Regions from separate parts of the Homo sapiens genome. Here regions 1, 2, 4 and 5 are each linked to region 3. The links are contacts of gene promoters, found by promoter capture Hi-C in blood cells and fetal thymus (Javierre and others, 2016). All regions are on one chromosome and are shown on one strand. Each heading gives the region's core, a stretch centred on a gene start or on the middle of the fragment in contact. The rest is flanking DNA. Distances are from core to core; before and after follow the strand shown. Region 1 has its middle 23 kb from the start of SEL1L. Region 2 overlaps SEL1L (SEL1L adaptor subunit of SYVN1 ubiquitin ligase). Region 3 holds the start of TSHR (thyroid stimulating hormone receptor). Region 4 has its middle 160 kb from the start of DIO2-AS1. Region 5 overlaps SEL1L (SEL1L adaptor subunit of SYVN1 ubiquitin ligase).

Region 1 (5,044 bases), core at 297-2,796, 600 kb before region 3:
TAATTTTCTAAAATATATATATTTTATTACAATTTTTTATTTTCAAATTTACTTCCACTTACATTTTAAATAAAAGTGTGTCTAAATTACATACACTTTGAGTTTTATTGTTTAATGCTTTGGATCATTGAGATCATGTTAGAAATAAAATATACAAAAGTGGAACTCAGAAAGAAAATGAGCTAACCAGAAAATAAGTAGAAGTTCCTCAAAGAGGCAGATTGCATACGTATTTTAAAACTGGAAACAAGGGAAATGAGCAAATGTCTGGCAAGTATGCCCCACAGAAAAGTCCTGACCAAGATATTACGTATTCTCTATTTAATGAAGACTTAATTGCGATTAAAAAATTAAAATTAGCAAATTATTCTTATCAATTCACAGTCTGCACAGGTCATATGAAATGCCTACAACCTCATATTCTTCACCAAATGAAGATGTAATTACATGTCACAAAATGTTATTTGCACATAGAAAAAGTACAATGCAATTTCTGAAACAAAAGGATGAATAAAGAATAATTGATCATATTCAATAAAGATAAGGAAATGCCACCTCAGAACCTTACTCTGATGTTCTGAAAAGGATGACACTACGTACCCAAAATTTGCTATGCATAATGATGCTTTCTGTGTCAGTAAAAGCACAATATCTAGGTTTAGTAGAAATTGTTTCACATTTTGATGCTAAAATGAACAAAAATATAATGAAGCAAATGATCACTCTCAAGGTTAGAAAATTCAAAATGAAGCTCTTAATTTAATGAGTAATAAGGTGAGGAAAAAAACATATGTAATTTTTAAAAAGATACTATTGGCTGGGCACAATGGCGCATGCCTGTAATAACAGAACTTTGGGAGGCTGAGGCAGGTGATCTCTTGAGCCCAGGAGTTTGAGACCAGCCTGGGCAATATGGTGAAACCTTCTCTCTACAAAAAATACCAAAATTAGCCAGGTGTGGTGGTGCATGCCTGTGGTCCCAGCTACTCAGGAGGCTGAGATGGGAGAATCATCTGAGCCAGGGAGGTCCAGGCTGCAGTGAGCTGTGATCACAACACTGCGCTCCAGCCTGGCGGACAAAGGGAGTCCCTGTCTAAATAAATAAATAAATAAATAAATAAAATTAAAGATACTATTATTCAGTTCAACTAGGTTGTAACAGGGTCAAAATGTTGATGAAGTAATATTCACTATATGTGTTGTTGAACTACCAGAAAAGGAAACAAGTCAAAACGCAACAGTATTCCACTGGTTGACATCAGTTGTGAAAATAGGTTTAGACTTTACTGAAAAGCTGAGAAAATAATTTTCAATTTTAGGCATTGATTTAAGAGATTGATGAGGGCAAACTTCATGGCTTACCTAATCTCACTAACATGGTCGGCAAAGAATAAGGTGATTAAGCCAGAATGTTTACCAAAAATCCAGAAGCATTTCTTTGTGCTACATATGCACAGAGTTGGAATTTATTACTGGGAGAAATGAGCTCATCTGCACCCATGGCAACACTATTCTTTGGAACAATTCAGAGATAAAATTCAGTATCTCCTGGGTCAGCCCAAAAATGAACTAGCATGATGAAACACATATGAAATTGGACCCTACACCATCATTTGACACATAATGGGAATTTGGACCACATGTTAGAACAATTAGGATCCACTAGGAGAGTGTGGCAAAATAACATTCCCAAATGAGTGAATAATCACCAAAAATGAAATTAATTTTGAGTTTGTGCCATCCACATTTATTTAGTATAATCTATTGCTTAATTTTAACTTTTAAAAACTAACAAAACAAAACAGATCTAGTTTGATACTTTGTTAAAGGCATTAAACTATATATACACATATATAGTTTACTTTTAGAAATTGTTTTCTTAATTGAAAAAATTGGCATAAAATATGCAACAAAGGTTATGCTTAGATAAAGTATAAAGAGTTGTTTAAAAGAAGGCCAAGCATGGTTGCTCATACCTGTAATTCCAGTGCTTTGGGATACCAAGCCATAAGAACTCTTGAGAACAAGAGTTTGAGACCAGACTGGGCAATACGGTAAGACCTTGTCTCCACAAAAAAAAAAAAAAAAAAAGGTGGAGGGGGGTGTTGGGGAGAGAACTTTTGTTTTAAAGCTGATAGAATATATTCATTTTCAAAGTCCTTTAAAAAATTCCTTACATACATTAGTGAGTGGTAAGCATAGCATGTGGTTCAAGGTGAACTCCATCCAGCAGACAATCTAAGATCAAAGGCTCAGTCATTGGCTTACACAATTTAAGGCAGCTACGCATTTTACTTTTCCTCCTTCAGTGGGGAGAGAACTTTTAAAAAGGGAATTATAAAGTTTTTATGACAATGAAAAAAGATTCATGTATAAATAATTCTGAAATTTCAGAAAGGCAAATCACAAATCGAAGTATATTATTAATTGAAGAGAGATTTTAACAAATTGAGTATCAAACTGCTATTTTCAAGTTATCTTCATAATACCATAGTGTTGAATAATTTAAAAGAAGAAAATACTTATTGCAACAGGACTATTCAAAAAAACAAAAAAAGAAAAAATATTGAATGGATCTAGACATTAAGAGACAATTACAGTTGTGATATAAAAATAGTAATTTAGATGAGTTAAAATATGTAGTAGTATTTTCTATGATAAAAATAGTTTATCACACAAAATCCCATGACAATGTTTGAACATGTTAGTAATATTTGTGGTTCATTTTTTAATTTAAGTAATGTCTGAAGAACTTTATTGGCAGTTTTAATCATTACAGCCTCGGCAGAGAGGTTTCCCAGGTTGGAATTTTAAAACCATATAATAATTTCAATGACTCAAGAAAGATTATGTAATTTGGCATTACCATCAAGAGAACAGAAATTTTGTGGAAATCTTGATTAAACAGCATAATTGGAGATACTGCTGACGTTAGGCAAGAAAAATAAAAATTTTAGAATAAATGTACAATTTGCAAATTACATATGTCTTTAATTTATGACTCACCCAAACATGCCCAACACATCAAGGGAACACCCAGGCATGTGCAACAATAATTACAGTCAGTTGTCTTTGATATTTGCCGATTTTCAGTAATATAAGACTATATAACTTTGTACATTTTTTTGTGAAGGTGTATTGTTTTGGCAGGTAGATAGGACATAATTTAACAGTTTGTTTGCTTAATTTATAACTTTCAATTTGTAAGAGCCATGGTATATAGGCCTCCATTTGTACTCATGCCCTGGGCCCTGCCAGGTGTGTGCCAGGTGTGTCTCTTGGTGGAGGACACAATGCTCAGCATCACTAATGAAAGCTTCTTTTTTGTTCCTTTTTTGCTATTTTGTATTTAGCTTGATGCAAGTGTGTAGTCTCTTTGCAAAGCAATAGGCTTCGAAGAATATTTGTACATGTTAATGGGTCCAAACATTATTTTTTCATGTGACTGTTACCACAATTAATAAATCAATTATGGAATGACTGTAAAACACAACAACAGCTGGAGACACAGACTCCACACTGAGATTCAAACGTGATAGAACAGGCTTCCATAAAGTGACTTCCTTCTAGATTTCAGAAAGGTGGAAAAAAGGTACTTGACAGTGGAGAAGCCTGCCAGACACTACCTCAGCCAGGTGCTCAAGGTCAACATCCACAGTGACAAGCCGTGTTGGCAGTATGTTTCCTTGATACGATGTGGTAGGAATGGCACTTCACCTCTGTGGTGTTCCACACAAAAACTATAACTCCAGTCTAATCATGAGAAAAACAGCAGACAAATCCCAATTGAGGGGCCAGGTGCAGTGGCTCATGCCTGTAATCCCAGCACTGTGGGAGGCCGAGGCAGGTGGATCACCTGAGGTCAGGAGTTCAAGACCAGCCTGGCCAACATAGTGAAACCCTGTCTCTACTAAAAATACAAAAATTAGCCAGGCGTGGTGGCAGGCACCTGTAGTCCCAGCTACTTGGGAGGCTGACGCAGGAGGATCACTTGAACCCAGGAGGTGCAGGTTGCAGTGAGCCAAGATCGCACCACTGCACTCCAACCTGGGCAACAGAGAGAAACTCCATCTCAAAAAAAAAAAAAAATCCCAATTGAGGGGACATTCTGCAAAATGCCCTGCCAGTACCTCTCAGGACTGTCAATGTCATAAAAAACAAGGACCATCTGAGAAACCGTCACAGCCAAGAGTTGCCTAAGGAGACATGATGAAAGGTAATGTGGTATCCCCGATGGGGTTCTGTAACAGAAAAGGCACTTTAGGTAAAAACAAGGGGAAGTGAGGATTTTAGTTAATCATAATGGATCCATTTGGTTCATTCATTGTAACAAATGCACCACACTAATATAAGATGCTAGCAATAAGAGGAAGCTGAATGTGGAATATACAGAAACCCCACACTGCTTTGCACCTTTTCTGTAAACCTAAAACAATTCTAACATTTTAAAAGGTATTTTGGTTTTGGTTTTTTCCCCCCCCTTTTTTTTTTAGACAGAGTCTCGCTCTATTGCCCAGGCTGGAGTCCAGTGGCGTGATCTCAGCTCACTGCAACCTCTGCCTCCTGGGTTCAAGCGATTCTCCTGCCTCAGCCTCCAGAGTAGCCGAGATTACAGTCATGCACCACCATGCCCAGCTAATTTTTGTATTTTTAGTAGAGAAGGGGGTATCACCATGTTGGCCAGGCTGGTCTCAAACCCCTGACCTAAAGTGATCGGCCTGCCTCAGCCTCCCAAAGTACTGGGATTACAGGCGTGAGCCACCGTGCCCGGCCTTGTTTTGTTTTTTCAACATAATGAAACATGACAGAAGGGCAAAATGGCCTCAGATGAGGCCTCCTAGCCGGAGAGGAGAACAGGGTTCCCTAAGACTCACCAGAGAGGGTAGAGGCTGGTCTTGGGGGACAGAACAATCATTGCAAACTCAGCCAGTCCTAAGAGAGGCCTGGTTTGGGCACAGCAGGGTAATGATTCTGGAACATTCCTGGCTCAGCCTTCTTGACACCATGAGCATGCTTTGTAGGAAGTGGCCATGTGTTTGTCACC
Region 2 (5,116 bases), core at 1,075-3,574, 530 kb before region 3:
AAGCTAGGTCTTTTCCTGTTTCCCTAAATTTATGTTTTCTACCACGACTTCTGTAGAATGTAATACTAATGTATTGTTTTTAATGCTTAGGTCTTTTATTGATTACTGTATCATACTTACCTGAAACAAACAAGTGTATAAATTCATTTTGAATTTTATTACCAGTGATCTAAGTGTTAAGAAAAATTCATGAGATATTACTAGTCACAGTTGGTCAGTTAATGCATTGTTGATCAAATCTACAAAATACATTTTGATAAAACTTTGCTTTTTGTATTATTAATTGAAAATGCATCTTTTAATGAGATAAATGGAGTATTTGTTAAAAATTGAGATTTCACATTAATTCTGTTTTTCATTTTTTTAAATGTATGACTAGAATGTCATGTATGTGAAAATGGGAAGAATTTCACTATAGCATGGTCACTTAATTCTTCAAACTACCTTAAGAGTTAGATGCCAAAAATCAGAGTGACTTGTCATTAGAAATTATTTTTAATGATCAATCTCCTGACTACTTGATAGGTCCCTCTTCAGTTGTGTTGAAAGCAAAGAATTGGAAACCAGAGACTTGTGAAAGCATGCATTCCCTGACACTGGGACCTTTCACTTTTCTTATTTTCTAGGAAGAGTACAAAAGGCTTTACCAAGACTTATGAAATAGGCTGTTAATTATACTCCTTCCTGTGTCACTTAGAGGCCCTTTGTTGACCTAAGGATTGAGGGAAAGTTGTTCATTTTTGCTAATGCGGTATTTTCTTGACAAAATGCTGCTGCTTTGTTCACATTTGGACATTTTCTTTTAATTTCAGTATGTAAATATTTATATTTTAAACTTACCTTAATACTTAGAATATTACTAATATTAGATACTTAAATATAGTTCAGTCAAGGCTCAGGAGCAGCAAACTCAGTACATTCAACTTCTGGAAGATCTCTGCCACTTAATGTAGTAACTGAAGCTTCTCTTTATTGTCAAACCAGTCATCCAGTGTCCCAAATTAGACTTAGCTTCTATCAGAAAGGCTGACGGATTTTTGTCGTTTTTTTTAAATGGAGATGGGGTACCACTATGTTGCTTAGGCTTGTCTCAAACCCCTGGGGACTTAAGCGCCTTGGCCTCCAAAAGTGCTGGGATTGCAGGTATGAGCCCCTGCACCCAGCTGACTTTATTTTTAATTCAAGTGAAGTTTAACATGACTAATATAAAGATCACATGTAAGTTATGGCTTTCATGGAGTACATCTAGTAATAATTTACTGACTGTAGTCAAAATTAAAATGATATAACTAATCTGTTTTTATAATAGCTTATAAAACAAGAAAATGTGTTCTAATTTAATTTGTAATACACTGTATAGCTAATAATAGAAATTCTTGTGAATAAAGAATATGATAAAAGGCATAGTACTCCTTTGATAAGAGTAGGGGGAGGGAACTTTTGTTTAGCTTTTGAGAATAAATAATCATTTATGAAAATAAATAATCATGTATGAAAATCAGTAACTCCATTACTTTTTTTTTTTTTCGGTGAGATGGAGTCTCACTCTGTTGCCCAGGCTGGAGTGCAGTGGCACAATCTTGGCTCTCTGCAACCTCCGCCCTCTGGGTTCAAGCGATTCTCCTGCCTCAGCCTCCCGAGTAGCTGGGATTACAGGCGCCTGCCACCACGCCCGGCTAATTTTTGTATTTTTAGTAGAGACGGGGTTTCACCATCTTGGCCAGGCTGGTCTTGAACTCCTGACCTCATGAGCCACCTGCCTCGGTCTCCCAAAGTGCTGGGATTACAGGCGTGAGCCACTGCACGCGGTCCCATTACTTTTTTTATAAGACATCGTGATCACCTTTTCTACTTTTTTTCTTTTGAGGTTTAAAATATTCATGCTACTAAAAACAATCCCCCATTTAATATAGTTAGGAAAATATTAAATATGAGGATTGACTATAATTGGAAAAAATCATCATATTATTTGATAAGTTTTAATTACATACTAGTGAATCTATTTAATTACCCTAGTGAATCATCCAATGTATGAATCACATGAAGTTTGATCCATGATCTTGAAAAATATAGCAGTCGAAAAAACCATTTGAGTTATATTTTTCTAAAAACTCAGACACTAACCATACTGTTAGCATTATTTGAAGATGCTCTTCTTTTTAAATAATGACACACCCTAAGGACAAGAATAAGGAATAGCTGAAAATAACTGCTTGTATTTAAATATGTTTGGAGGGGGAGTCATTTTTGGTCTTTAACCTTTCTTCCTCATATCTCATGGAATTCTTTCTTAAGAGTTTGGTATTCTTTGATAATAGGGAGTAGAAGTGAGATTTTTAAGTGAAAATTCCCACCATCCCATTCTATTACATATCTGAATTCAGAACACTCCAGCCTGGGCCAAAATTAAGAATGCCTGGTTTCACCCTTTACAGAAATATATCTAACACAGGGAAACACAAGATGCCCTAATAAGGGTTTATAATTAGTCAATAAAGGAGCCTTCTCCAGAACCAGTATTTCAAGGTATCTCTTCCGGTGGTAGCCCCTGAGGTTTCTACACCCCAGGGCAATGCACTTGAGGAAAGAGTGGGGTAGATCTCTTCCGGTGGTAGCCCCTGAGGTTTTTACACCCCAAGACAATGCACTGGAGGAAAGAGTGGGGTAGATAAGGGCTGTGCCTTCCTTTAGCAAAGCGAAGCAGAGAAACGTTGCTGTGCATACAGGCCTATTCTCAGCAGATCCCTTTCAGGAAAAAGCACATATGGAAGCTGCAGAACTGCAGAATCGAGTCCCTTAACATGTCCATGCAAGTACCTCTTGTAAAATCTGTTTCTTTTTTTGGAAACAGGGTCTCACTCTGTCACCCAGGCTAGAGTTCAGTGGCACCATCTCAGCTCACTGCAACCTCTGCCTCCTGGGTTCAAGCAGTCCTCCCACTCAGCCTCCCAAGTAGCTGGGACTACAGGCAGGCGCCACCACACCCAGCTAATTTGGCTTATTTTTTGTAGAGACAGTTTATGTTGCCCAGGTTGGTCTTGAACTCCTGGCCTCAAGTGATCCTCCTGCCTCGCTCTCCCAAAGTGTTGGGATTATAAGAATGAGCCCACTTTGGGAGGCTGAGGCGGGCGGATTACGAGGTCAGGAGATCGAGACCATCCTGGCGAACACGGTGAAACCCCGTCTCTACTAAAAATACAAAAAATTAGCCGGGCGAGGTGGCAGGCACCTGTAGTCCCAGCTACTCGGGAAGCTGAGGCAGGAGAATGGCGTGAACCCTGGGGGGCGGAGCCTGCAGTGAGCCGAGATCGCGCCACTGCACTCCAGCCTGGGTGACAGCAAGACTCTGTCTCAAAAAAAAAATAAAAAAGAATGAGCCACCGTGCCTGTCATCTGTTGTAAAATCTTGAGTGTTTCTACCCCACTTTGAAGATCACTGTCCAGAACTGAAACCAGACGTTGCTAATACTGATTGAAGTTTTAAGTAGCAAAAAATTAGTGTGAGTTTCAGAAGTCGCCCTTGGAAATCTCTAGGTTAACAGTGTTAATGCATAGATATATGGCTGTATGCAGCATATCTACACAGCAAATTAGATGTTATGTTGGGGGAAAATGAGTTTTTTAATTAAGTTTTTCAATATTAAGCAGTTAGATAATTAAACGAATTTTACCCAAGTAAAGCTTGGCATTTTTGTTTAGGTGAGGGAAACTCATTTTAAAATGAAAACCTCAAAGGTAAAATAAATTCGTCTAATATGTTCACTAAATATTTTTACTTATTTTGACAAGAAATGCATTTTTGTTTCTTACCTGTATTATAGGATATTCACCTTGCGAAACGTTTTTATGACATGGCAGCTGAAGCCAGCCCAGATGCACAAGTTCCAGTCTTCCTAGCCCTCTGCAAATTGGGCGTCGTCTATTTCTTGCAGTACATACGGGAAACAAACGTAAGTGGTCCGTACCTCTTTTCATTAAAATATAAATGATGGAAGGTCTGTCCTGGAGGTTTGTTTTTCAAAAGTTGAGAAGCACAGGGAAGAGTGGTCCTGCAGGTATCGGGTGTGTTCCCTTCTCCTCAGCTCAGGTACCCGAGGACCTTATCAGGGGAGGGATAAATGCAGGCATAAAGCAGCTACTGCAGTTTTTAGGTAGCGTTTGACACTTCCTGACGCTAAAGCATTTTTCATGGAGGCAGATGTTTTCTGGTTTAGGGAAAACTGAGACTAACTCATGGCAGTTTGAAACAGTATTTAATTCAGTAAACATTAAATCAGATGACTCAAACCAGTCCCTTAAAAAGAAAAGGAAAAAAAAAAGAAGAATCTGAGAACCTCCCCAGGTTGTTGTACTTCAGATTCTTCCGATAGTGAAGCATTAAGTTGAAAACACCACCCAAATTTTCTTCTCTAAAAATAGCGTGAATTATTTAAATAGGCTAATGGAAGAACCTATATAGGAAGTGGGTTACCCATTTTCTTCAAAATTACCAACTTTAGTTGGCAATACTGGTATGTAGGTACTCTTGGGTTCTGCCAGCTTTATATTTTGTTTCCAGTACTATAGTTCCTAGAATGGATTAACTGGTAGAGCATTTCACTCTGAAAGCCCTAAGATGTTCAGAGCCCTTGTTTCTAACATAGGCTTATTCAGGACAAGGAAAGTTTCTTCAGGACCAGAAAAGGATGATGTTTCACCCTTTTGTTAATGTCTTTCAGTTTTAGATTCAAGAATGGGCTTTCCCTCATGTGTGTCACAGGTATAAATGTAGTCCATGCTGCTCCAGCATCAGTGAAAAGAAATGGACTTGTCTAGTCCATGCAGCTGAAGTCCTCCACAGATAGGGTTCCAGAGCACTGGTCTTGTGGGACTCTGGCCTCCCAGTCGCTTCCACATGTGTAATGTCAGTTGCTATAATTGCATGGTAGCATGAGTCAGGTGTGCTGTAACCGCTGCCAATTGAAACAATCTTTGTTCCTTTAATTAAAAGCTGATCGTGTGGCAGCCTCCTCTTTCTCTTTCAGTACCATTTCAGACCTTTATCTCTCACAATTTTTATTACTAACTGTTGGTTATAGTCTAGGACTTCATCTTATAATATGCTGTACTGGGTATA
Region 3 (4,639 bases), core at 833-3,332:
TCATTCTCCATTACCCTTTCTTTCTCAACTTTTGGTGGAATTTTAAACAGGATGTCTACGAGTTCCTTTTCACTGTCAGAGCCACATCTCTCTTCAATGACTTGAATTTCTGCCACTGTTAAAGAAGTCTCTGAAGAAGTGATGTCTTTGGATTTCTTTCTCCCCAACATAGAGTGGACATTCAGAGACCTGGCATATTCATTTGTTTATTTATTCACTTAAGTTTTTTTTTTTTTGTTTTTTCTGAGTGTCTAAGTAGTTCCAGGGTTTCAGGAATTCGGGGTTGAATGGCAGTTCCCTATGTTAGAGAAGCTTGTGTCCTGCTTGAGTGGGCATGCAAATAAATAACAAGTTACAAGAAAGTAGACAATGTCTAAGGGCTAGGGTTAGGTTCATGCAGAGAACGCTGTTGGGAAGGGGGGTATAGCTTACCCAGCCTGAAGGTCATGGGTCAGGAGAAGCTTCCTGCAGGGTTGATCCAGGATCTGGATCTGGGAGTAGGCATTAGCTGGGTGAAGAAATGGGTGAAATGTGCTTCAGGCAGAGGGGCCAGAAAGTGGGAAGAAAGGCAAGGGCAGCTGTAACAGCAGGGACCTTTGGGGAAGTGCCAGAAGTTCTCAGCAGGAGGGGGAAGTTAGAGAAATGAGGAGCAATGAGGTTGGAAAGACTTGACTAGGTCTTGAAAGATCTGGTAGGCTGCACAAAAGAATTTTATTCTAGAGGTGACAAGCAACCTATGTAGAGGTGTAATCAAGAGGCCATTACACCTTTTACACATCTTATTCTGTGGTGGCAGCATGGAGAATGACTACCACACTGTTTGGAGGTTATTGAACTAATTAATTCAGGTGTGCTAAGACACTAGGATATCTCTGAGCACAGAAATATATCTCTGTGCTCAAATATTCATCTACTGTTAAATAGTCTTCATGAGCTAAATTCTTGAGAAAATCTAGAGGTGCAACTTTCCCATTTCTTTTCATCTATCAACATTTTCTTTAATAACCTGCATTTTTTTTTATCTTAACTGGATTTAACCAGCCTAGGTTGTTTTACTGTCCTTTCTTTCTGTTCTCTTTTTAACTAATCAAGACAGACTTTATTCCCTTGGTTTTGTCTACAATTTCAATGATCACTGATTTAAATTGCTGTTAAGAAACAGGTTGTGTGTGTATAATCTTATTTAACATCAGGTTTCTAATCTGGTAACATTTAACATGCAGATAAATGTACTATACTTTTATGAAATTTCATTTCTTTATACCTCTATCACAAAGCAGGGTTCTGGACGTACTATTTCACTGGCAGTTCACATTTGAGTAAGTAACTTACAGATACTGTATAGACAGTTCATTTTAAAAAGGGCCCCTGCTTAAACCTTTGTCAACAATTTGATGAATCAGCAGAACTGCTAAGATAACCTCCCATCTAGAGAAACAAAAAGGAGAAATACATATTTTTGCAATTTTTTATTACCCAAGGTAAGATCAAAAAGGTCAGTTCCTGAGATGCCATTATCCTTATTAATTCAAATAAAACAGATTCAACCAGGGTTAGGCAAAGTGCTGAATAGCAGCTTGTTGGAAAGAACAGCTCTCACGGTCATTGTACACCAAAGTTTTGTAACATTTTCCTGTGTTGGGAATGAGGATGTCAACAATGATACCTTCCCAAGTGTGGGCGATTAAGTTTTTAGCACACACACACATCTACACACACAGACATTCACTCACACATACACACACTCACACACTACTTCGGGCTGTTATTGAGCTGCTTTTGTGCACTTCGGGCCACCTCTGCAGATGCCCTTGATCTCTGGGTCCTACCCTGATCTCTCCCGGGTACTCACAGAGTCTGCGTACTGGGCGGTAAGCTGGGGATGCGTTGAATATCCTTGCAGGTGACTCTGAAGTCCTCCTCCTGATGGCACTCGCAGGGTGGAGACGAACACCCCATTCCGCCCAGGTCCCTGGGCAGGTCGAGCAGCAGCACCAGCTGCAGCAAGTCCGCCGGCCTCATTTTCCACGGGACTCGGGGCTATTTCTCCATCCTCCGAAATCGCCTCATTCTCAGCTCTGCACCTCGGGTTACCCCAGGCCAAAGGAGACCCGGGAGCGGGAGGGGTGGGAAGAGGGAGGGCTCCAAGGGGCTGTGACCTCACCACTGTGGAGGAGGCTGGAGAAGGGGAAAAAGAGGCACTTAAGTGCTCCGCTTCCCTAGGCAACCTTGACCCAAACAAGTCTGCTTGCTTCACTTTCCTTGGCTGGACCCACGCAGTCCGCTCCGTCTGTTCCCTGACACCCAACACCAGTCCTGGCTGTCCCCTCTGTTTTCCAGCCCGCCCCCCCACCCCGGGCGCCCCTCCCATTAGTTCTCTCCAAAGCCTAGTTTAGATGCCCCCTCCTTTCCTCCTCTTTAAATCCAAGGAGCCACCTTCCCTAGCGTGTAGCCTTCTAGACACCCTGTCTGCCTGGGAGCCACTCGCACGCACTCCTTATCCAGAGAAAGTCCCCGCGGAGTGGACTGTCCGCGGGCGGACCAATGTCCTGCAGAACTTCAGCTCCTCCTGGCCAGAGACACCTCTGCTGAGGGTCAGAGGCGGGCACGCAGCCCTGGCTAGCCCGCGGTGCGGCCGAAGCCGTCGCCCTGCACCCCTGGAGGATTCTCGTTGCTATCCAACTGCAGGGGCCACTCCGGTGGTTGAGTCGACTGGCAGCGGCCGCCTCACGTTGCAGCCCGCGGCTCCGCGAGGCAATTCAGGAACTGAACTTTGGGGCCATCTGCTGGGAAGAATCGGGAATGGCAGAAATAATTCCAGGTTCCCTTAATAATGGGTCCAGTATGGAAATTCTGGTCGACCCAAGAATTTCATTGAGTCATATTCCCCCTGGAAGATGGGAAGAAAAATAATACTTAAGTGGCATACTCACCATTCTTCGCACAGTAGCCAAAAAGATCATTACAAACATAAATCAGATTGTGCCTATTTCCTTCTTAAAAGTCTTCAATCACTTATTCCTCTTGGGATAAAAGGAATGTCAATTCCTTCTATACTGCATAATTCCTTTTATATGAACTTGGCTAGGACAGGAAGGAAAAAGTTGTGGTTATGGGAATCAGAATAAAGGTTAGGAAAGATTGACTAGAAAAAGACAGGAGGGAACACACAGGGTTTCCATATCGTAATTAGGCTGGAGGTTAAGTGGATGTATACATTTATCAAAATTCATTAAACCGTACATTTAAAATATGTGTATTCCAAATTTTACAGAAGCTTTATTCATAACCACTAAACGAACCAAGTGTCTCGCGACTAGATAATGGATAAACAAACTCTGATACCTCCACATTGGAATACTATTCTGCAATAAAAATGAATGAACTGCTGATACAACATGCACAAATTTTCTTTTCTTTTTTTTTTTCTTTTGAAACGGAGTCTTGCTCCGTCGCCCAGGCTGGAGTGCAATGGCGCGATCTCGGCTCACTGCAACCTTTGCCTCCGAGGTTCAAGCAATTCTGCTGCCTCAGCCTCCCGAGTAGCTGGGACTACAGGCGCCCGCCACCACGCCCGGCTAATTTTTTCGTAATTTTAGTAGAGACGGGGTTTCACTGTGTTAGTCAGGCTGGTCTCGATCTCCTGACCTCGTGATCCGCCCGCCTCGGCCTCCCAAAGTGCTGGGATTACAGGCTTGAGCCACCGCACCCGGGCTTTTGTTGTTGTTTTTTTAAAAATTACCATGGTATTGTTATGGAACAAATCTTGAATGCATAATGTTAAGTGAAAAAAGCCAAACTCAAAATATTACGTATTTATATGTAATTATTCATATTAATGATTCATTTATATAGCTTTCTCAAAAAGGCAAAACCATAGGGACAGGAAAAAGATCAGCGGTTGCAAAGGCCTAGGGTAGGGCTGACTACAAATGAACACCAGAGAATTTTGTGGGTAATAAAACTGTTTTAAATCTTGTTCGTGGTGATGGTTCCATGGTAGTTTATTAATGTGGTGAATCATAGTGATCGATTTTCGAATGTTAAACCCACCTTGAATTGCAGGGATAAATCTCACTTGATCATGATGTATTTATCCTTTTTTTGTTTGTTTGTTTGAGACGGAGTCTCGCCCTGTCGCCCAGGCTGGAGTGCAATGGCACGATCTTGGCTCACTGCAACCTCCGCCTCCCGGGCTCAAGGGATTCTCCTGCCTCAGCCTCCAGAGTAGCTGGGATTACAGGCGCCCGCCACCACGCCCGGTTAATTTTTTGTGTCTTTAGTGGAGACGGGGTTTCACCATGTTGGCCAGGCTGGTCTGGAACTCCTGATCTCGTGATCCGCCCGCCCCAGCCTCCCAAAGTGCTGGGATTACAGGCATGCACCACCGTGCCCGGCCGTGTTTATCATCTTTTTAATATACTCCTTCATTGGATTTGCTAAAATTCTGTTTAAAAGTTTTACATAGACGTTCACAAGGGATAGTAGTCTGTTATTTTCTTTTCTGTAACTTCTTTGTCAAATTTTGGTATGAGGGCAATTAATTCTTCCATCACAGAATAAGTTGGGAAATATTCCTTCCTCTTTAAATTTCTATAGGAGTTTGTGTAGAACTGATATCATTCCTTTCTTACTTATT
Region 4 (5,156 bases), core at 1,284-3,783, 900 kb after region 3:
AATGTTGGCTTTGACTGCTCTCTAGTGGTGGGCAGTGTTCACTGTCAGCAATTCCTTCCACAGGAATCCCAAGCTGAAGGAAGAGACGGCAAAACTCAAGCTTTTGCTTGGACACCTAGAGCTGAGTTGCAAAGGAGCACACACACACACACACACACCCCAGGCCTGGGGGTGGAGGTAGAAGAGCAACTTTCACTGAGCAGGAAAATGATAATAGAGATAAGAAGATGAAGTCTTCTATGGAAGCTGGAGAAAGGTTTGAGAGGATGAAGAGTTCCATATTCGGAGCCATAGACCTCTCACGGCTGTGCTCACTTTCTTCTTTCCATAATGGTAGTTTCCAAAATTGGAGTTGTGCTGGCTCCAGAGTTTTAGCTGGTGCCTGAGAGCTGACTTCTTGAACAACTCTGCAGAGGATGAAGAAGAGGAAGGAGACATACTTCTTGCTTTCAGGTGCCGTCCCCTTTTCTGGAGGAATTATGTAGGTCTGTTTTATTTTTTTCTCTACCCTACATTACTCAACAAAAGAGGGGAGAGTACCGCCTTGGGAAGAGATGGAGAGAGCCTCTGTTGTCACTCGTCCAGTTTTCCCTAAATCATGTTTTATAGATGACTCAACTGATATTGTGAGCTTTATTTGCATTTAGGGAAAAGATAAGTAAAATCAGTTTTGGAGTTTTCATTTTGTTTTTGGTCCACAGTTAGCATACATCCTGTGTTTGTTTGTTCCTGCTTCTGCACCGATTTTCTATGAAAGCGTATATATTTACATTACCCCTTTAGGTCTCAATGACTACATCTATATAATGGTGGGGTCAGTGGTCAGAGGTTGAGAGGTGGTTGATGTTCTGGACTTCTTTTATCTCTGATATGCCCTGAATATTATGATTCACTGACTCATAGAAGAGAATCTAAGAAAATATCCTGGGTTATGTAAGAAACCATTTGAGTCCTGGCCAGCTAAGCAGCAGTTCACACAGAGAGAAATACTCAAAATAGAGATACCAGGCAAGTGACATATTGGTGACCAGAAGGCACTTCCTTTCAGAAGAGAAGGCAATCAGATCATAGCCTTGCACAGAATAAGGATTCCACAAAAAAATTCCCGTGGTTCCTCCATTTTCTTGATCCACTTTCTTTGTGTCTCTATATGTAAGGCAAAGTGGAGAATTAAAGCAATTATTTGGATAATTCAAGCAGAAAAAAACCTCACAACACCCACATATGCTGCAATTATCTAGACATTTCAGGCAGAAGTGAAGCTCAGAACCAAATTATCAGGATAGTGCTTCAATTCTTCTGAAAAACAGCAATGCTAATTGCATGACACATTCAATGTACTATCACAGAGGACTGATGAGAGAGCAAAATTCTTGCTTGACATGCCTAAAAAGAAGAGCATAGAGTAAAAATATTCCACATCAGTTAAAACTTGGTAGAGAAAAGACAAAGGTAGTGAAATGATTAGTGCTAAAATGGGTTTCAAAGTACAAAAGAAGGCGTTAATAAATACGTCCAGGGACATTGAACAACCAGGAGAAATCAAGGCTGCCAATCAGCAGGCGTAGACATGAAATTGAGGATGATTCTAAAATGGCTGAGACACTGAACTCATGCTTCGAATCTGCTTTTAACAGGAAAAATGAAGCAACAAATTTGGACTATTAGGATATAAACGTTGCCAAATAGCTATTGGCAAAAATCAGGTGAGGGAATAGAGAACTTGGAAAACTTGCATAATTATAAATCAGCTAGACAGGCACCTGAGATTATTAAGGAAATTGGAGGATATGTGGTACTTACTAAAGAGATCACACTTTCTTTTGGAAAAAAGAAATCATATAGCTGAAAAGGTAGTAGATATCCTTTAAAAAAATCCCACAAAGTCCTCTTCCTAAAAGATATATTATTATTTTTTGAAATAGCAGTCTTACAAATTTGAGGTTCAAGTAGTAAACAAAAGGTGGATAAAATACTATTTATTTAAATTTAAGTCATGGCTACCTTTATAACAATCATGGAAAAATATAAATACTTAATAACTATGATGATGATGATGGTGATGATGATGATGATGATAAGGAGAACAATAATCAGCAAAGCAAATAAAACAGAACATGAATGACCAGAATGTATTATAATTAAACATTAAAATCCACGAGGCCAATGACTTGCCAAACAATGCCAGAAGAAATTTACAATGTGATGTGATGGAAAGAACATATCGTTATTAGCTGTGTGACCCTGACCAATTTATTTAATCTCTCTATATCAGGCTTGTCCAACCTGCAGCCCACAGGCTCCATGCGGCCCAGGATGGCTTTGAATGAGGTGCAACACAAATTTATAAACTTTCTTAAAACATTATGAGAATTTTTAGTAATCTTTTTTTTTTTTTTTAGCTCATCAGCTACCTTTAGTGTTAGTGTATTTTATGTGTGGCCCAAGACAATTATTCTTCTTCTAATGTGGCAATGTGGCCCAGGGAAGCCAAAAGATTGGACACCCATGAACGATTCTGAAGCATGTAAGACAGAGAAGAGATGGGAAAGGTTATTTGAAGTCCTGGAAATCCCAGGAATCACTTTTAGTTTTAAGATTATTGGTACACAGATAAAATCTATTTAGAATCATAAAATATGAGGCTGAGAAGAACCTTAGATATTATTTAACACACTGCCAGAAGTCCTTCCTCAATATTCTCTACCGGGGTCATCAAACCCTGATTGCTTATCCACCTGTGATAAAGTGCATACTATTTGTCAAGACACTCCATTCCATCTTTGGGCAACTCCACTTACACAAAGCTCTTCTTTTTGACTAGCAAAATCTTTCTGCTTAGCTAAATGCTTTAATCTAACATTTCATCTTCAAATATTTCAGGAGGTTGGTCTAGTAAGTGATTAGTATTCTGTTTTTATTCATAATTGCTACTTCACAAAATAAGCAGTCATTTCTCAATATCATCAAATATCCAAGCAGTGTGTACATTTCCCCAAATATCTTAGAATCTTTTGGTTCAATTCATTGTTAAAATTAGAATCCTTAAAAAGCCTGGCCTATACATTTCAATTAATTAATAATCACTTTGTGTGTGTGTGTGTGTGTGTGTATATATATATATATATATATAATATATAGTTGCTGCTCTTTTTTGTAATTCAGTGAATGAATGAATGAACTACTTAATTTTTGTTGTGGTGTGGAAGAAACCCAGCTGCTTCTAATAGTTTGAATTTTGCTGATTCTATCACTATGGTGCCTGTCCCCTCTATTCCCTATTGATTGGTAATAGATCTGGAGGCTTGAGGCTTTTTACTTTTCTTTAGTGTATAGTTATGATTTCATAGCCTACAGTTCCTTTTGATAGGACCGTAGAAGTCCTTGGTAGCTTCTTAGTCTCTTCGGGCTACTATATCAAATACTCTAAACTGAATAGTTTAAATACAAACATTGATTTCTCACTATTCTGGAGACTGGGAAGTCCAAGTTCAAGGCAACAGCAAATTCAGTCTTTGTTGAGGGGCTGCTCTGTGGTTCGTAGATGCCAACTTCTTGCTGGGTCCTTACATGGTGGAAGTGGGGAGGCAACTTCTCTTGGGACATATAAGGGCACTAATCTCATTAATAAAGATTGCATCTTTATGACCTCATATAATCCTAATTATTTCCCAAAGACCCAACATTTAATGCCATTACCTTTGGGGTTATAATTTCAACATATATTTTGAGCAAACACAAACAGTCAGACTATAGCAGCTTTCTTGCTCCCTGGTATGATAACATGATCTATGCTCAACATTCAGTTTCTGCTCCAGACCTGAAACCTACTATTGTTCCCAAGGAGCCATGATTTCCTCTAGTGGTTGTTAGGGGTTCTCATCACAACTGAGTTTGTCATTGTTTTAGGCTGCTTCTGTGGAAAGAGATAATAAATAATTTTTCTGAATTTGTAGAGCTTTATTGATACATAATGAAAGAATAATATAGACACCCAACTATTTTAAAAATACAATTTAATCAGTTTTGATATATGCAAACACCTGCAAAATCATAATGAACAAAACAAATATTTATACCACTGCCAAAAGTTTCTTCATACTTCTTTGTAATCTGTCCTCCAACTACTCCTATCCCTAAGCAACCATTGACCGGCTTACCATCACCATAAATTAGTTTACATTTTAGAATTTTGTATAAAATATCTCACATTCTCTTTTTTTCATGCTTTCACTTAGCATCATGATTTCAAGATTTATCCATGTTGTGTATATCAATGGTTTATTTTTATTGCTAAGGAGTATTCTTTCATGTGGATATAGCACAAATTGTTTATTTGTTAACATGTTGATGGACATGTGGATATTTCCAATTTGGGACTATTAAAAATAAAGTTACTATAAACATTTGTGCACCAGTCTTGGGGTAGATTATAAGTTTTGTTTCTGTTATGTAAATACTTAGGAGTGGAATGCCTACATCATATGGTAGTGGATCAAATTAAAATTATGTTTAATTTTATAAGAAACTAACAAACTGGTTTCTAAAGTGGTTTTACCATTTTGCATTTTCTACAGAAGTGTTTAGGAGTTCTAGTTGCTCCACTACCTTGTCAACACTTGTTATATTCAGTCACTTCAATTTTAAGCAATCTAACGAGCACATAATTATATCCCATTTTGTTTTCAGTTTGTGTTCCTCTGACTACTAATGATGTTAAGTATCTTTCATGTGAAATTTTGCCATTTGATTATCTTATTTCATAAAGTATCTGTTCAAATCTTTTGCCTGTATTTTTATCAGATTGTATAATTAATTTTTGAATTGTAAGAATTCTTTATATATTATTGATATGAGTCTTTTGTTTGATATTTGTGTTGCAAATATTTGCTCCCATTCTATGGCATACTATCTTGATGGTGCTTTTAGAAGAGCAAATGTTTTAAATGTTGATGAAGTAAGCTTAGTCTATTCTTTAAATTTTATGGTTTATGCTATTTTCTTCTGTCTAAGGAAACTTTACATACTGTAAAGTTGCAAAGATCTTTTTCAATGTTTTCTTCTAGAAGTTTTATAGTTATAGATTTTAAAGTTAGAGCTATAATTGATTTTGTTAAAGCAAACTCATTGTGGCCTGAGAAGAACTCCATACTTCT
Region 5 (5,205 bases), core at 1,244-3,743, 540 kb before region 3:
GATCACTTGAGGTCAATAGTTCAAGACCAGCCTGGCTGACATGGTGAAACCCTGTCTCTACCAAAAAGTACAAAAACTAGCTGGGCGTGGTGGCATACGCCTCTACATAGTCCCAGCTACTTGGGAGGCTGAGGTGGGAGAACCACTTGAACCCAGTGGGCGAAGGTTGCAGTGAGCCAGGATCGTGCCATTGCACTCCAGCCTGGATGACAGAGTGATACCCTGTCTCAAAAAAAAAAAAAAAAAAAAGCCACAAATAAATAAAATTTTTTTTAAAATAATGCTACATTTAATTTAATTGTGTAATGTGTAAAACTCTGAATGCTTTTCCAAGGCTCTTTAATCCATGTTTGTACATACTTGAATTCAAATCTTTTAGCATTTAAAGACTCTTGCATTTTTTCATAGTATATAAAACTGTGTCTGTCTGTGTCTGTCTTGGATAAACCTTCACCAAAGCAAGATTTCTTACTTTTATCATCTATTTCAGGCTCTTGGCTTTCTGTATGCCTCTGGACTTGGTGTTAATTCAAGTCAGGCAAAGGTAATACTATTAAAACTTTATTGCATATTACAATTTGAATTGAATAAATGCGTGCCTATGTTCAGTTAAACATGTTTTGTTCTTTCACAGGCTCTTGTATATTATACATTTGGAGCTCTTGGGGGCAATCTAATAGCCCACATGGTTTTGGTAAGTAGACTTTAGTGGAAGGCTAATAATATTAACATCAGAAGAATTTGTGGTTTATAGCGGCCACAACTTTTTCAGCTTTCATGATCCAGATTTGCTTGTATTAAGACCAAATATTCAGTTGAACTTCCTTCAAATTCTTGTTAATGGATATAACACATGGAATCTACATGTAAATGAAAGTTGGTGGAGTCCACAATTTTTCTTTAAAATGATTAGTTTGGCTGATTGCCCCTAAAAAGAGAGATCTGATAAATGGCTCTTTTTAAATTTTCTCTGAGTTGGAATTGTCAGAATCATTTTTTACATTAGATTATCATAATTTTAAAAATTTTTCTTTAGTTTTTCAAAATTTTGTAAATGGTGGCTATAGAAAAACAACATGAAATATTATACAATATTTTGCAACAATGCCCTAAGAATTGTTAAAATTCATGGAGTTATTTGTGCAGAATGACTCCAGAGAGCTCTACTTTCTGTTTTTTACTTTTCATGATTGGCTGTCTTCCCATTTATTCTGGTCATTTATTGCTAGTGACACTGTGCCTGCTTCCAGTAGTCTCATTTTCCCTATTTTGCTAATTTGTTACTTTTTCTTTGCTAATTTGGAAGATTAACTCATTTTTAATAAAATTATGTCTAAGATTAAAACTGGTTCTAAGCAAAAGCCCTTATAATTTTTCTCTTATGAGTAAAATGCACACACTTCAAAAATAAAGTTTATGACATCTATTTTGATTGCTCTAGGAACTATATTATTTATTTCCTTGCTCTTAGCTATGGCCTTCTTGTTGAAGTTGCTGAATCCATTACCTCAAAACCTAACACTTAGCATAAATAAGGTGTTAGTGTACTTGGATCAAATGACAGCAAAATTCTGGGTATGCTTAGCTTTATTTGTTCCACGAAGAATGACACTGAAGTACATGAAACTGCTGCCTCCTCACGTGAAGTTGTTTTACAGGGTTACAGATACTGGGCTGGCATCGGCGTCCTCCAGAGTTGTGAATCTGCCCTGACTCACTATCGTCTTGTTGCCAATCATGGTATCTATGTTTCCCCTTTTACCTTTTAGGAAAAAAAAATAAATGGAATTAACTTTAAACATTTCTATTTTTATTGTTCTATTTGAAGTATTATAAATGGCTCTTTTATGTGGACTCATCTTTAAACTAGTTGAGGTTCAGAAGTACTTTTTTCTTTATATAATTTTGCTTTAGGTTCTATTTACGTTGTGAAAAAAGTTCAATTTATTAATAGATTACTGATTTGCGATCTATATAGACTACTGTAAAAACAGCTTCCTTTAACAATGTGTTCGTCAACGTTTGGCAGCTGGAATTGTACTTCTCTCTCTCTGGAACAATTCTTCTGATTTTCCTCCACCTTATTGTTTTATCCCTCTATTTCAGTTGCTAGTGATATCTCGCTAACAGGAGGCTCAGTAGTACAGAGAATACGGCTGCCTGATGAAGTGGAAAATCCAGGAATGAACAGTGGAATGCTAGAAGAAGATTTGATTCAATATTACCAGTTCCTAGCTGAAAAAGGTGATGTACAAGCACAGGTACGTGTTTGAACATCTCACCAAATATCTTTACTGCATTGTATATTTTAATCTGTGGGGGACGGGAGCAAGCACTTATATCTGTAAGTTACATTTTCATTGCCCTGAGCAATTATGAACTACATATTAGAATCACCTGAGCCCCTTAAAAAAAAAAACCAAGAGTCTCACACTCTCAGGAGATTCCATTTGGGTTAGTGTGGGATGGGGCCTAGGCATTGAGGGTTCCTAAAACTGTCCAGGTGACTCTCCCGTGTACTGCCCCTAAAAAAATCACTGCTTGAACAGAGCAGCATTAACACCGATGATGAAGGCTGTTACTGGAGTCACCAATGATGAAAACTGTCACTTTCTCTAAACAAGAAGTCCCTGGAATATTTGCAATATCAGATGCTCTTCAGAGCTATTTACCATTCGTGTTTCTTTGGCTCATCTAAAATCATAATTTCTTCAAGGTCAAGAACAGAAGTAAGCTCGTTTAATGGAAGTTGTATAATGTCCGTCAAAGTACCATGTGTGCACACACAGGTTTCGTGGCTTCTTTTGATATTAAAATAAAAAGAACTTTAACATTTATATTTTTTTCCACTAAGTTTGCAATTATTTCTAATTTAGGACATGTACAGATGAGCATTAGATACTTATTAAGAACAGTTGGTTTTAAGACTAGCAGTGGAGTCTTAAGGAAAAAAAAACGTAGTGAAACGTAGATCTAAATGTTAGCTGATAGAAATTATAATAAACTTGTTCAATTAAACATCTTATTTTTACATTATTGTAAAATTTAGTTTACTTAAAATTTTCTGTTTTACTTGCTTTCTGTGTATCTTGCTTGTTGTGTTTACTCTTCTCTCCTTTCTTGCCCTTTTTTGGTTGAGTGCTTTTTCCTGTTGCATCTCTTCCCCTCTGCCAGCATGATGCTACTCTTGTAGTGGTTATCTAGCGATCACAACATGCATCCTTGACTTACCAAAGTCTGGTACGATGAGCACTTTTACCATTTCCAGGACAGCACAGAGATCTCAGAGTATTCTGTGTGTGTTTGATTTTATATATTTTGGTACCATGAGATACTGTTGTTTTGTACAGTCCATATTAATTTACATTTATTTTCAAATTTACCTTTTCATTGCTTTTTATTTATTTTTTTATTTTTTATTTTTTGAGACAGATCCTTGCTCTGTTGCCCAGTGCCACTATCTCAGCTCGCTGCAACCTCCGCTTCCCGGGTTCAAGCGATTCTTGTGCCTTAACCTCCCCAAGTAGCTGGGAATGCAGGCATGCACCACCACACCCAGCTAATTTTTGTATTTTTAGTGGAGATGGAGTTTCACCATGTTGGCCAGGCTGATCTTGAACTCCTGGTCTAAGTGATCCCACCCACCTCAGCCTCCCAAAGGCTGGGATTACAGGCATTAGCCACCACACCTAGCCAGCTCTTTATTTCTTACTGTATCTCCCAGCTTCTAGTAAGTTTCCTTTTTTCTGAAGAGCACCCATTTGTGTTTCCTTTAGAGCAGGTTCACTGGGGACAAATTCAGTTTTTTTTTTGTTTTTGTTTTTGTTTTTTGAGACGGAGTCTCGCTCTCGCCCAGGCTGGAGTGCAGTGGTGCAATCTCGGCTCACTGCAAGCCCCGCCTCCCAGGTTCATGCCATTCTCCTGCCTCAGCCTCCCGAGTAGCTGGGACTACAGGCACCCGCTACCATGCCCGGCTAATTTTTTTGTATTTTTAGTAGAGACAGGGTTTCACCATGTTATCCAGGATGGTCTCAATCTCCTGACCTCGTGATCTGCCCGCCTCGGCCTCCCAAAGTGCTGGGATTACAGGCGTGAGGCACCGCGCCCGGCCCAAATTCAGTTTTAATTTATGTGAAAATGCCTTTATTTCACTTCCACTTTAGCAGGATACTTTGTGTTTTTGTTTTTTGTTTTGTTTATTCATTTGTTTGTTTTTTAAGACAAAGTCTTGCTCTGTCACCCAGGATGGAGTGCAGTGGCACGATCTCGGCACACCTTAACCTCTGCCTCCCAGGTTCAAGCAATTCTCCTGCCTCACCTACCAAGTATTTGGGATTACAGATGTCCATCACCACACCCAGCTAATTTTTGTATTTTTAGTAGAGATGGGATTTCACCATGTTAGCCAGGCTGGTCTTGAACTCCTGACCTTAGATGATCCACCCACCTCAGCTTCCAAAAGTGCTGGGATTACAGGCATGAGCCCATCGTGCCTAGCCCGTTTTTTGTTTTTTTGAGAAAACATCTCTCTCTGTCGCCCAGGCTGGAGTGCAGCAGCACAATCACAGCTCACTGCAGCCTCGACCTCTCCAGGCTCAGGTGATCCTCCCACCTCAGCCTCTCAAGTAGCAGGGACTACAGGCGTATGCTACCACGCCCGGCTAATTTTTCTATTTTTTTGTGGAGACAGGATTTTGCGATGTTGCCCAAGTTGTTCTTCAACTCCTGGGCTCAAGTGATTCACCCATGACCTCCCAAAGTGTTGAGGTTACAGGCGTGAGCCACCGCACCTGGCCGCAAATGGTACTTTGCAATTACAAGTACACGTTTTTACTTTTCAAAATTTTTAGGTTAATTAAAGTAGAATAGCATTTTCAGGAGTTAAGACTAAATCTTTTTGTTTTTTGAGTCATGAACAGAAGCCATTTTACGACCAAATCATTTCTTGTTGGTCTGATTTTAATTGTGTGCCAGATGGTACCACTTACTTTTGCCTTGTTTGTGATCATTTTCAGGTTGGTCTTGGACAACTGCACCTGCACGGAGGGCGTGGAGTAGAACAGAATCATCAGGTAACTACCCTGTTCCTAGGGCTTTGCATCTCAGTTTTAGCAGGAAATGATGTTCCCAATGTATTTCTTGCTAAGTCAATACCAGTATCAAACTTCTGTCATTTAAACACCCATCACAAATGAGCTTTCAAGA

Evidence for each region. Contacts are between HindIII fragments. The CHiCAGO score rates a contact against its expected background, and 5 or more counts as called.
Region 1: a fragment that was not itself captured here is called in contact with the fragment with the promoter of TSHR in region 3 in 3 of 17 cell types (naive CD8 T cells, total CD4 T cells and activated CD4 T cells); the score reaches 6.4 in naive CD8 T cells.
Region 2: a contact is called between a fragment that was not itself captured here and the fragment with the promoter of TSHR in region 3, in 16 of 17 cell types (total CD8 T cells, naive CD4 T cells, total CD4 T cells and 13 more). The highest score is 25.9, in total CD8 T cells.
Region 4: a contact is called between a fragment that was not itself captured here and the fragment with the promoter of TSHR in region 3, in 2 of 17 cell types (megakaryocytes and endothelial precursors). The highest score is 8.4, in megakaryocytes.
Region 5: a contact is called between a fragment that was not itself captured here and the fragment with the promoter of TSHR in region 3, in 10 of 17 cell types (total CD8 T cells, naive CD4 T cells, activated CD4 T cells and 7 more). The highest score is 10.4, in total CD8 T cells.

Annotation. Positions count from the first base shown.
Region 1 is chr14:81,553,856-81,558,899 of GRCh38, reverse strand. No RefSeq gene overlaps it. Among named protein-coding and RNA genes, the nearest start is that of SEL1L, 23 kb to the right of the region's middle. The HindIII fragment of the contact is 3,544 bases long and covers 1-3,318 here.
Region 2 is chr14:81,478,446-81,483,561 of GRCh38, reverse strand. It overlaps SEL1L (SEL1L adaptor subunit of SYVN1 ubiquitin ligase), which reads left to right. Exons shown (of 21, transcript NM_005065.6): 20 at 3,822-3,950. Among named protein-coding and RNA genes, the nearest start is that of LINC02308, 31 kb to the right of the region's middle. The HindIII fragment of the contact is 2,719 bases long and covers 965-3,683 here.
Region 3 is chr14:80,953,064-80,957,702 of GRCh38, reverse strand. TSHR (thyroid stimulating hormone receptor) reads right to left here and starts at 2,082. Exons shown (of 10, transcript NM_000369.5): 1 at 1,853-2,082. The coding sequence starts at 2,022. It also overlaps a transcript of CEP128 not described here. The HindIII fragment of the contact is 2,816 bases long and covers 464-3,279 here.
Region 4 is chr14:80,051,255-80,056,410 of GRCh38, reverse strand. No RefSeq gene overlaps it. Among named protein-coding and RNA genes, the nearest start is that of DIO2-AS1, 160 kb to the left of the region's middle. RefSeq lists a silencer at 1-185. The HindIII fragment of the contact is 4,862 bases long and covers 103-4,964 here.
Region 5 is chr14:81,494,948-81,500,152 of GRCh38, reverse strand. It overlaps SEL1L (SEL1L adaptor subunit of SYVN1 ubiquitin ligase), which reads left to right. Exons shown (of 21, transcript NM_005065.6): 7 at 491-544; 8 at 635-694; 9 at 1,659-1,740; 10 at 2,107-2,261; 11 at 5,016-5,072. Among named protein-coding and RNA genes, the nearest start is that of SEL1L, 36 kb to the left of the region's middle. The HindIII fragment of the contact is 8,034 bases long and covers 1-5,205 here.